Linked DNA regions of Homo sapiens: all the other regions are linked to region 3. Evidence: promoter capture Hi-C in 16 types of primary human blood cells and fetal thymus (Javierre and others, 2016). All regions are on one chromosome and are shown on one strand. The core of a region is centred on a gene start or on the middle of the fragment in contact, and the rest is flanking DNA. Distances in the headings are between cores, read along the strand shown.

Region 1 (3,842 bases), core at 786-3,285, 260 kb after region 3:
ACGACAATCTCCAAGATTGTGTTCTCACTTCCACTTTTGCTCCACATGGCTCCATTTTGTGTCCACATCTTGGGAATGCATTCTTAAGGACACATCCAGGGATCTTTATATAATCTAATCACAAATTCCACTGTTTAAAACTCCTCAGTATGACCCTTCGCCATGTCCTGGGCTTCAGCCCTAATAGTGAGTGGTCTGTGGTTTTTGGAATTTACTCAGCTCTAAAAACTCCGGGATGGCACACACATACCAGGCATGGATACACCTGCATCCCCCTGGACCAGCAGTCTCTCCACATCTCCCTGGAAAACCTGTACAGGTGTTTTGGAACTCACTCTCATTTCAGCTCCTCCAGGAAGCCTGGGTTAGGTGCCCAACTGAGTTCTTCTCATCACAACCCCAGCTCTCACCCCTCATCCCACTGTATGGAAATTTTTTTTATTTATGTGACTTCACCTCCAGACTCTGACCTCCCTGAAAGCCAGGAGCCATTCTGTTTATACACAGTGCCTAACATGAACAAATGCTTGTTAAATAAATGAATGAATGTGAACCTGGTATACCATAGGCGTCAGAACCCCCCCCTAGCTTCCTCAAGCATTAGCTGTGTGATCTTAAGAAAGTTGCTTAATCTCCCTAGACCTCAGAGTTATTGTCTGTAAAATGGAGATCATAAAACCTATACTGTCAAGTTATTGTGAGATTTAAACTAAATTATATAATAGATGTAAAGTCCTCAGTGTCATGCCTCATATATAATAAGTATGCAACTGTTAGTTGTTATTATTATTACTGTGCCCTTCAAGACCCTACTGAAAACATTCATGTTCTTGAAAGACTTCGAATCAATTCCCAGTCCACCATGATGACTGTGCTGCTCTGTGCTGCATTTCATAATGCATTATTTTGCACCCTTGATATTGTTTGAAAGGGTCTGCCCTTTCCGTACTTTCTTCAAGTCGCCTAATACTTGAACAAATGCTTTTAGAATAAATGATATTATCAAGTTTGGTTTTGTTCTATAAACTAATGGTGCCCTTTTGCTATAGATCTTACAGTCCATTGGCGTTTCAAACCATGGAAATTCACTTTGCAACTCCTAATGATGCAAATGCCATAAAGAGAGGCCAGTGAGAGGAACACACTTAGGGGGAACGGCAGGGCTCTGGAAGGGAGACAGGTGGTGATCCCAAATTAGAAATCAGGTCTTAAAGGGGCCACAAGCGAGATGACATCTCAAAAAGAGGGTTTCCTTTGTCACAACAGATGTGAAAAGGTGAATGGTCAGACCAATACTTAAAAGAAACTTACAGCTTTGCCCCTGTAAGCGATACTGTGCAGCCATTAAAAATAGGAGGCAAGCTAATAAAATGGCAAATAAGAACATATAAGGGACAATGTTAAGTTAAAAAAAGATTCAGATAACGTATGGCTTTTGATCATAGTATGTAAAATTTGCTTTAAAATAAACAAAAAACTTAAAAGGAGTAGACCAAAATTTTAATGCTGTAACAATTTGCTAAGTTTGTGGGTGAAATTTTCTTTTTATCACTTTCCCATACCGTTTGTAATCTTGCCATATTCTTTTAAAATACAAAAAGTATTTCTTAGAAAATACATATTCTGCGTGCCTCTCTAGCAGATGTCTCTAGAAAGAAATGAGATAGCGCAGAAGACACGCCCTAGACTGCAGGGGGCTCCATGAGCCCAGAGCCTGACTCAGCAGCGTGAGAACAGGGGCGAACCTGGGCATGGGGCACTCTGCAGCTTGATCCCGCCCTGGATGGGTCCCTTCTTTACCTGCCACCGCCTCGCTGGGTGTTACTGAGTCCCCCGCCAGCAGGCCGCCCTCGGTGGGCGCAGCGCCCCTCCCAGTCCCGGACCATGCTATCCCCAAGAGACCCTCCTCGCGAAAGATCTCTCTGGGAGAAGGGAGGAGCTGCAAGGGGCCGGAAAGAGTTACAGGGCGCAGGCCTCTGCGACCTCGCCCTCCCCATGCCCGCGCGGCTCCCTACTCCCGCCCCGCGGGCCGATGACCTGTACCTCTTGCAGGGGATCAGCGCCTTCCTCTCGTCCAGCACCCGCACGCGCTGGTTGAGCCCGTCGTAGGAGAGCAGGGCGCGGCTGTTGCGCCCGCTACTTTGCTGGTACATAACCTGGCGCCCCTCCCACTGCTGCGGCGCCTGGCACGGGCGCGGGGCTCCCACCGCCCCCAGGCTGCACAGGCCGCACAGGGTCCAGGCCCAGAGGCCGCCCAGCAGCCAGGCACCCAGGGCGCCCGGGACGGTGCGGAGGGGAGCGCGTCCTGGCATCGCGGTCAGCCTTCCCCGGCCCGAGGGCAAGCCCAAGCCCAAGGGGGCGCTGAGGCGTCCGGGATCAGAGTGGCTCCCGCCGGCTCTTTCCGCACTGTGCCGGGAGTGTGGTCTGGACCAAAGTGCTTCCTGTCCCTTCGGTGGCCTCTGCCGCTTTTGAGATCCGGACGCGCGAGTCCCGGTAGCCGGGACCAGGGCCCGGGGAAGGCTCCAGTGAATCGCGCGGGAGCTATTTCTGCCTGGGCCACTGCCTGCTGCCACTGCCTGCTGCCACTGCCTTCTGCCGCTTCGGTTTTCACTGCTCACTGCTGCCAACAGGAAATGCAGTGGCAGTGGTGCCACTAGCATCCTGGGAGGCATCGTGTTTTAAGAGGGGGGATGGGGGGAGACTGTGCTGAGAAGTGTGTTTCTCCACTAACTTCAGTGTTCAACAGGTAATCACACAGGGAGGGGCAAGTTCAAGGTCAAGATAGGAAAAGCAGAGCTGCTGCGTTTGCTGTGCAAACGTTTGCCCCGCCTACATTGCCCCTCGACAAAATTGCAAACTTCTTCCTCCAAATTAAAAGTGGAAAGACGAGTCTTTTCCTGAAGAAATGATACTAGCTATTCATCATGGCCGCTCCTCAGCTCCCATTCCCAGTGAAGAGTCTAGGAGACTAGTAGACAGCCCCTTGCATTGGGCCTAGGACTCATGGACATAGCCTCAAGGTCACATTGCAGTGAGACTGCTCCTCCCATCGCCTGGCAATACCACCAGCCGAGTGGTTTGGGTGTCTGGGGGGTTTCGCTTCTTCAAGAATAAGGTTAATTGGGTTTATAGTTATGTAATGTTAGGATCTATAATATGGAATGAGCGAGGCTCACACACCTGTAGTCCCAGCTACTCCTGAGGCTGAAGTGGGAGGATCGCTTGAGCCCAGGAGTTAGAGGTTGCAGTGAGCTATGATCATGCCACTGCACTCCATCCAGCCTGGGTGACATGGCGAGACCCTGTCTCTAAAAATATAGTGATAAAGTATGAAATCAAGAAAAAAGAAAGGAACTAAAAAAATGTATAGCGTCTTTCCATTTGAACTGCATTTCAAGGATGATTAAGATTGAGCCAGGTGAAAGTGGGAGATAACATTCCTGAATGAAGGGCATAAGGACAAGAAAAGAATAATGCTGGGGTTCAAGGACAAGGTAGAGGAGTACTCTGAAGCCATAGCACTCATTTTAAGGAATTTGTCATTGATATTGAGGACTGTGGGAACTATCAATCAATGTAAAGCTAGGGAGGAGCATCATCAGGCATATGCTTTAGAAAGCCCACTTAGACAACAGAAAGGGTAGGGCCAGAGGGAAGGCAGGGAGAGGAGGAAGCTACTGTTATCATCCTGGAAAGAGATGATCCTGACTCAGCTAAGGCAGCGGGAGTGGTCATGGAAAGGGTGGAAGACAGGTGGGAGCTGTAGAGAAGCATTTCAACTCAGAGAGAGAGGTTTCTGGTTTGGGCCACTGGGAATCCAGTCCTGAGTGAGGAGAGATGAT
Region 2 (4,125 bases), core at 1,511-4,010, 270 kb after region 3:
AAATAATAATAAAGAAAAATAAATAAAAAGGAGAGGCAGACAATGTCTGGATTCCTGTTTTTTGGTTACCTGATTTCATGATCATGATGCTTCTTGTCAACACCCTCTTAAGCAGCACCAGAAACAGTGAGTTTGTCTGTACCATTAGGAGTTAGGTACTAATTAGTTGGCTAATGCTCAAGTATTTTATACCCACAAGAGAGGTATGTCACTCATCTTACTTCCCAGGACATCCACCCTGAGAATAATTTGACAAGCTTAAAAATGGCCTTCATGTGAGTGCCAAATTTTGTTTTCTTCATTTAAATATTTTCTTTGCCTAAATACATGTGAGAGGAGTTAAATATAAATGTACAGAGAGGAAAGTTGAGGTTCCACCTCTGAAATGAGAATTACTTGACAGTTGGGATACTTTAATCAGAAAAAAAGAACTTATCTTGCAGCATTTTATCAACAAATTTCATAATTGTGGACAATTGGAGGCATTTATTTTAAAAAACAATTTTATTGGCCTTTTGCTAACACAGTAAGCATGTATTCTCTATAAGGCATTCAATAAATGCACAACGCCCAAAGGAAATAAAATCCTATCTAATCCTACTCTCCACTACACAGAGGTAATCACTATTAGTATTTTGGCATATTATTCTCCAGGTGTTTCTTATGCACTTATAAAATGATTTGAACAAATAAAACTAGGAACCTGCTATACATGTGTTTCATAACCTGCCTCCTTTGCTTGGCCCTTTATTGAGATAAGTTTTCCTGTCAAGAAAGCAGAAACCATCTCATTTCTAACAGCTGTGTTATATTCCATAGTATGCATTACTCAACAAACTGTTGTGCTATTGGATACTTAGGTGGTTTCTTCACTGACAATACTGAATAAACATCTCAATAGTCAAACATCTGTGCACATCCTTCATTAGTACCTTGGGATACATTTGTTTAAATAGCATTTTCGGGCCAAGGAGTATGCTCAGCAAGGAAAGTTCTTGATCTTGTCAGTTACGCCCCAGAATGCTTGGACCATCCATGTATGGAAATGCTCACTAAGTGTATGGTGTATGGAAACCCTCACTAAGATTATTTCTCCTTCCCCATATTGATTAAAAATGTAAAGTTGGAACTGGTGGCCACCTTGGGCAAAGCTCCTCCCTTCGTCTGTGAACCATCAGCTGACAACATTCTCAGCACTTCCTACACTCCTGGCAGCTGGGAAATAGTGATTTGAGCCCCTCAAAGTATAGAGATAAATAGATGGCTTGATAGATGATTGATAGATAGATGGATAGAAAGATAGATGGATGGATAGATAGACAGACAGACAGACAGATAGATAGATAGATGATAGATAGATAGATAGATAGATAGATAGATAGATAGATAGATAGATAGATAGACAGATTTCTTAACTGCTGGAAAAGCCTATGCAACCTTCTCTATTTTTTTAACAAATCAAACTTAATAATATAACTGGTTAACTACAGGAACTGAAGAATTAGAGTATAGCAGAGTTGCCAATAGATGCTCTCTGTCTAGACTTCTTTTAAGATACATGAGAACTTACATAAATAGCCTTAGTTCTTACTTTTCAGCTCTAAACCAATGCAGTCTGATCACACTTTTGGTTTCTCTCCTTGGATACCTATAAGATGGTCTATCGCATTCTTACAGCAAAACCCCTTACTAGCTTGAGGGTGTTTCTGGTTGGGGTAACCAGTCCCTGAGTGAAAAAGAAGAGCACATTTTTACTGCAAGGATGTACCTGCTATTATTACCATTCAAAGAGCAAGAATGATTGTTTGGAATCATGGAATGAAAAGGTTGAATAAGACCTCAGAAGTCATAACCTCGCTTGTTGGAGAAAGGTTGTATAAGTTTGTCTGATTTCTTGCACATAGCTAGAGGCAGATCTGGGCCCTCAAATTTCCTGAATTTTGATTTACCAGTCCAAAGTCCACTGACTTCTTGGTAACATAAATCTGGGCTGCTAGAGGGACTATTTATTTATCACCATAGAAAGAGCAACAGGATAACAAATTTCTGCTTCTTGTTATAGTCTGATTTATGCTAATGCTGACCATATTTCCTATTGGAAAATACTTTTGAAAAGCAGTTTACACTGAAAGATGTATTACATCATAGTGAGAGGCATACCACCCAACAGTATATCAGTAATTAACTGATATTATTAGCCATAATATCAATTAATTGTCAACTCTGTGATTTAACTGATAAGGAAGCATGCCATGTTCTCCAGATGAATGAAGTACCCAAGATAGAGCATCTACTTTAATTTAAAGTACCCCAAAGAAGACGCTGAACCCTTGGATAGCAATGGAATATCCCCCCTTATTATTCAAAGAACAGAAATAAGCAAAAACATGAAATAAAACAAAAAGACCCAAAATATCAAAGTAGCTACTCAAAATGTCAAAACTAGCATTTTGGTGTGAATCCTTCTGGGTTTTCCTCCTGTTTTGGTGTATGAACTTAATAAGGCAGCATGAAAATTGCTCCACTAAAGAATGCAACAGTAGGTTTATATTGGACAGTTGCATAGCTTGGATGTATCAGAGTTTATTTTACCAATAATTTGTGAAAATGGACTTTTGAATGTGGTTCCCAAGTCATGTCAGTGTAGGATAGGTGTTTGTGACACAAATAACTTTCCTTCATTATTGAATACTAAAGACCATAAAAAATGTTGCCATAAGAGAGTGCAAAGCATAGGCTGGGCGCAGTGGCTCACACCTGTAATCCCAGCACTTTGGGAGGCTGAGGCGGGTGGATCACAAGGTCAGATCGAGACCATCCTGGCTAACATGGTGAAACCCCGTCTCTACCAAAAATACAAAAGATTAGGCGTGGTGGCGGGCGCCTGTAGTCCCACCTACTTGGGAGGCTGAGGCAGGAGAATCTCTTGAGCCAGGGAGGTGGAGATTGCAGTGAGCCAAGATCACGCTATTGTACTCCAGCCTAGGTGACAGAGCGAGACTCAGTCTCAAAAAAAAAAAAAAAAGAGTGTAAGCCATAAAGGTTTTCTATATTTTGTCTAATGAACATGTGTTACTTTTATAACTATCAGATACTACAAAAATATTATCAGACAGGTATATATATAGAATGTAGTTTGATTTAAAGACATTTAGACATGCTAATTTGAAAACTATTCCCTTGATCATATGTGTTTTCATCTGGGTCCTCAGAGAAGCAAATGCCAAAACAGAATTAAATGTGCAAAACGCCTGTGAGAGAGAATGGGGAGGGATCTGGGTAGGGCTGGGAGAGCTGTCAGAGCACAATGGATGTCCACCCTGAGTGAAGGAGAGAGGGAAGAGAGAAGAAAGGTTGGGTAGAAGCATTCCAGACTGCTGTAAAGTCTAAGGAAAGTTTGGCAAGGTTACTTGGGAGTCTTGAGCCAGTCATCTGTCAAAGGAGTCCCTCTTCTCCCAGGGATAGCTCTAAGTATCCTGTTGTGCTCAGTCACTGACTGGGAGCAACCCATAGGTAGTGTGGTCTTGCTGCAAAGGTGACAGTGAATTTCAGGGTGCAGAGCTAGAACCCTTGTCAATATGGCCCCTGCAATTGGAGGTTGTGATTCACATTCTCATACTCATCACACTATGACAATCATAAAAATATTAAAGTTTGACCACCATACTTTTCCAGCACAAACTATAAAGTAGTGTCAAGCAACAGAATGTCTCTGTCAATTTCTGTAACTGGCAGCCATACACTATTTAATCCCTAAGCCTTCGACTTTTGTCTTCATGCTTTTTCATGTCTTTTTCTTTTCGAATTTATTAAAGAAAGAATATGTTGATCACCACTACAGAACTTACAGTATTTATTTGCTTTGCTACCTGAGAGAAATTTCTGTCTACTGGAATGTAAGAAAATATTTGTAAAGAGGTAATTAATGTCAAGAACAAAGCCATGGTGTGTAATTTTGCCTTTACAGCCTAAGTCTAATATATTTAGTTGTGATATTTGTATGAGAAAAATTTTATAACTAAAACATGCAGCTGCAGTATCTCAATGAGAACAACTTTCTAATGGCCAGTATGGCTCACTTAAATGACATATTATGAAAAGGGAAAACAATTAAATTGTTTATTA
Region 3 (3,934 bases), core at 136-2,635:
TAAATTGCTCACTACTCAATCTCTAAAACCTAAAACAATGAGTGGCATAGACAATCACTCAGGCAAACTGTCCATTGAATAAATCCAAATGATGTTAATCACCATCCTTCTGTGAACATAAGTAAGGTAATATCCCTCAGAGGCTGTTTCATTTCATTTCTTTCATGCAGTTTTAGGCAATGCAATAATGCAGTTTTAAAAGACCAATGTTTGAGACAGTTAGATTTTAAAGACAGTGACTTCTACACGACAACATATTGTATGTTTTCATTTTATGAACATGAATAATCCACCACCTTATCAGAATCCATCAATAAAACAAGGATACCATAAGTCGTTTTGTGAGATCCTGCTTCTAGAAAGAGGCGTATGGGTAGATATGGTATACAGACGGGAATTACCTTTCAGAATTCTTCCTAACAAGGAAATGTGGCAAACTGGACTAATTCCAGTAAAGATTTAATTAGACCCGTTACTTGGTTACCTTGCTAAACTTATCCAAACTAGTACTGTGTCAAGTGATGAATTCAGTGATTCCATCTGTGAAATAGAAGACAAATGACACAGTGAACAAAGAAAAGTTCCACAATGTCCACCCATGTTTGAACTAAAAGAGAGGGGGAAAAATCCCTAACCCTAAATCAAAAGTATTCAAGCAACTAAGATTTCAAACAATGGCGAGATATCTACGAGTAGGTGAAGCAGTTAACTGAAACCACAGGGAGAACATTCATGATTCGTGCTTTCTTTCTTTTTTTTTTTTTTGAACACGACTTTTCTCAATGAATAGAAGAGACTCACAACCGCCTGTGTCTGGACAACCCACGCATTACACCCAGTCACCAATTCTTGGTCCTTCTTGGGGGCCCATGGCGCCAGCCCGGGGCCGACCCCACCGGGGACTCCTCAGGGTCCGCAGGCTGGAGGAATGAGGACACTCCCGCTACCTATATCCATCCCTGAATCCCGGCCCACGCCGTGGGAGCAGCGGGGCTCAGCATTCTGCAACTTCACTCTTGTGTCCATTATGAGCACAGCCTGCCTCGCCCCTCCTCCTCCCCTGGAGGCTCGCGCAGGACTCAGGAAACAGAACAGGACCAGGATATGGCCTCCGTCCGCGGGTCCCCTGTACGCCCCCATGTAAGTCATCTGACCCAGGAGACTCAGTTTTCCAACCTGTCAAATAGGGGAACGAGAAACCCAGCCTACCTTAACGGGTGGTTCCTGGCCGGCCGCCCCAGGCTGGCCCGGGAACTGCGGATCCGCGGTCGCGCCCCGGCCTGAGGGGCGGGGCTTGGCGGGGCGTGACCGGGACCCAGTCCAGCGGACAACGCGCAGCCCACCGCCCGCACCCAGCAGCCCCGGGACCTCCGGCCCGTGACGTCAGCACGCTGACGTCGACGCACACAGCTCGCATCTCGCTCGAGGGACCAAAGACCCGACTGGTTCCTGAGTGCCTCCATAGAGGAGCCAACCTATTGGCCAGATGACATGTCAATCTTCTACTGACCAGTAAACGACGCGGGAAGGAGGGAGAGGGCGAGCCGGTCTGCCTGTAGGAATGGGTGGGAAATCTGGGCATCCAGCTTTGAAACACGGAGCTGGTTGGACTTTCCCGCATTGTGCATCGCACGGTTTAACAAGCGCCCGCTTCCTCTTCGTCCGCGTTTCTGCGCCTTCCGCTTCCCTTCAGTTATTCGGTGGGGGTTTATGCTCCAGCTCGTGGGAAAATGTCATGGAAATGGGTTTCAGGGCCTCTTGGGCACCTCATGCTGAGCCCTCCAGGAATAAAAACAGGGCATACCATTTCTATGTCGGTACTCAGCTCAAGAGTCACCTCTTCTAACTCTCACTTCCCCCAGACCTATTTAGGATACCTTTTCTCAGCGCTCCTAGTTCATAACTAACATCTCTAAGCGGTAGTCACATTTAATTATATCTATATGTCTGTTTTCACACGAAGTTAGGCACCTTTTATTGTTTTATTTAAAATTTAATTAAACTTTTCTCCCAACGGATGCTACACTTATTCACATTTTTAGAAGTACAGAGGTATACAGTGAACATTCTTTGGATCCCCATTTCATTATTTGTATATTTTTCCAAAGTCATTCTAAGTACCGTTATTAATTTTAAATTACACAAGTAAGATTTTGTCCATGCGAAAAAAAAAAAAAGCTTAAACGTTACAATTATGCTTATATCCCTTTTAGGCCCTAATTACAAACCCAGTCTGTAGATGATGACTCCTAGTTCCTGTGCATTTGCAAGTGTAGATGTTACTTTTTTACACTTAGCATTGAAATCTTTCCATATCTGTATATAAATCTACCTCATTCTCTGAAAATGCTGCATGTCCTCAGAACCAATATGTGTATATATATACATACATAATTAATGTACCATTCCCCCACCCTCACGTTTGTTTATTAATATTATTATGAGAAGCAATGGTACCATAAATATATATGTAGATGCCTTTTTGTACTTAGGTCCAAGTATTTCTCTAGAGTGCAGATACCAACAAGAGAATGTACTGGATCACAGAGTTTGCACGATGTAAATCCTTAATAGATTTCACTGATTTGCTCCCCTGAGTAGTTGTTTTAACTTACATTCCCACTGCTAGTATTTGAGCAATTTTTCCCTGTATCCTCGCCAATACTGATAAAATACAATTTAAAAAAATTTTATAAACTGATAGATGTGAAAACCTTTTAAAGCATAACACATATACAAAATAAGTGTAATAATCATAAGTGCTTGTCTTAGTGACAGTGTGAACAAACTTGTGTAACCACCGCCTCACAGCAAAATTTTAAATGTTTACCAGCAATTTAGAAGCTTTCCTCATGCTCAGTCTTAGTCATTATACCCCTACACACAGATAGGCACAATTCTGAATCCTACCACCCAATTAGTTTTGCCTGCTTCTGAATGTTTATAAATAGTCATACATAATACGCACTCTTATGTGGCTCTTTTTGCTTAATACTATATTTGTAAGATTGATCCATATTCAAGAATATAATAGTTTCATTTTCATTTTTGTATATAATTCTAAAATTTACTTGCCTATTCTACTGTTGTTTGACATTAGATTATTTAAAGTTTGGGGTAATTACAAATGACGCTGCTATGAATATTCTTGTACCTGTCTTATGATGCACATAGTTACACATTTGATTTTGGAAGATCCCTGGAAGTAGTGTTACTATGCACAGGGTATATATTCAATATATTCAACATTAATAGACACTGCCAAATAGTTTTTAGGTTTTACTAATTTATACATGCCCTAGTCGTGAATGAAAATTTCAGTTACTCTGCATCTTTGCCAACACTTACTATACTCATTTGTGTTTTGTGTTCTTCCTTTTTCTTTTCCTTTTTAAATGTTATACATTCTGGTGAATATGTAGAGGCATCACATTGTGGATTTAATTGCATTCACTCATGTGTAGCCTCTGAAGTCTCAAAGAAATTGATGGAAACCATTCCTAAGGAAGCCCAGATAGTGGACTTATTAGATAATGATTTAAGTCAACTGTCTTACATATGCTCAAAGAACTAAAGGAAACTGAGAGATGAAGCCGGCTGGGCTTCTAGGTTGGGTGGGGACTTGGAGAACTTTTCTGTCTAGCTAAAGGATTGTAAACACACCAATCAGCACTCTGTGTCTAGCTAAAGGTTTGTAAATGCACCAATTAGCACTCTGTGTCTGGCTAATCGGGTGGGGACTTGGAGAACTTTTCTGTCAAGCTAAAGGATTGTAGATGCACCAATCAGCACTCTGTGTCTGGCTAAAGGTTTGTAAACGCACCAGTCAGCACTCTGTAAAAACGGACCAATCAGCACTCTGTAAATGGACCAATCAGCGCTCTGTAAAATGGACCAATCAGCAGGATGTGAGTGTGGCCAAATAAGGGAATAG

What was found. The method cuts DNA at HindIII sites, captures the fragments that hold promoters and counts their contacts. A CHiCAGO score of 5 or more calls a contact.
Region 1: a fragment that was not itself captured here is called in contact with the fragment with the promoter of STARD3NL in region 3 in 1 of 17 cell types (megakaryocytes); the score reaches 5.4 in megakaryocytes.
Region 2: a contact is called between a fragment that was not itself captured here and the fragment with the promoter of STARD3NL in region 3, in 1 of 17 cell types (megakaryocytes). The highest score is 5.3, in megakaryocytes.

What each region holds. Positions count from the first base shown.
Region 1 is chr7:37,919,410-37,923,251 of GRCh38, reverse strand. EPDR1 (ependymin related 1) reads right to left here and starts at 2,612. Exons shown (of 3, transcript NM_017549.5): 1 at 2,044-2,612. The coding sequence starts at 2,312. RefSeq lists a silencer at 1,918-2,367. The HindIII fragment of the contact is 5,102 bases long and covers 1-3,842 here.
Region 2 is chr7:37,902,713-37,906,837 of GRCh38, reverse strand. It overlaps SFRP4 (secreted frizzled related protein 4), which reads left to right. Exons shown (of 6, transcript NM_003014.4): 6 at 1-906. Among named protein-coding and RNA genes, the nearest start is that of SFRP4, 12 kb to the left of the region's middle. The HindIII fragment of the contact is 5,001 bases long and covers 260-4,125 here.
Region 3 is chr7:38,175,696-38,179,629 of GRCh38, reverse strand. It overlaps STARD3NL (STARD3 N-terminal like), which reads right to left and starts at 1,385. Exons shown (of 9, transcript NM_032016.4): 1 at 1,210-1,385. RefSeq lists a silencer at 1,129-1,408 and enhancers at 1,659-1,738, 3,486-3,934. The HindIII fragment of the contact is 5,243 bases long and covers 1-2,180 here.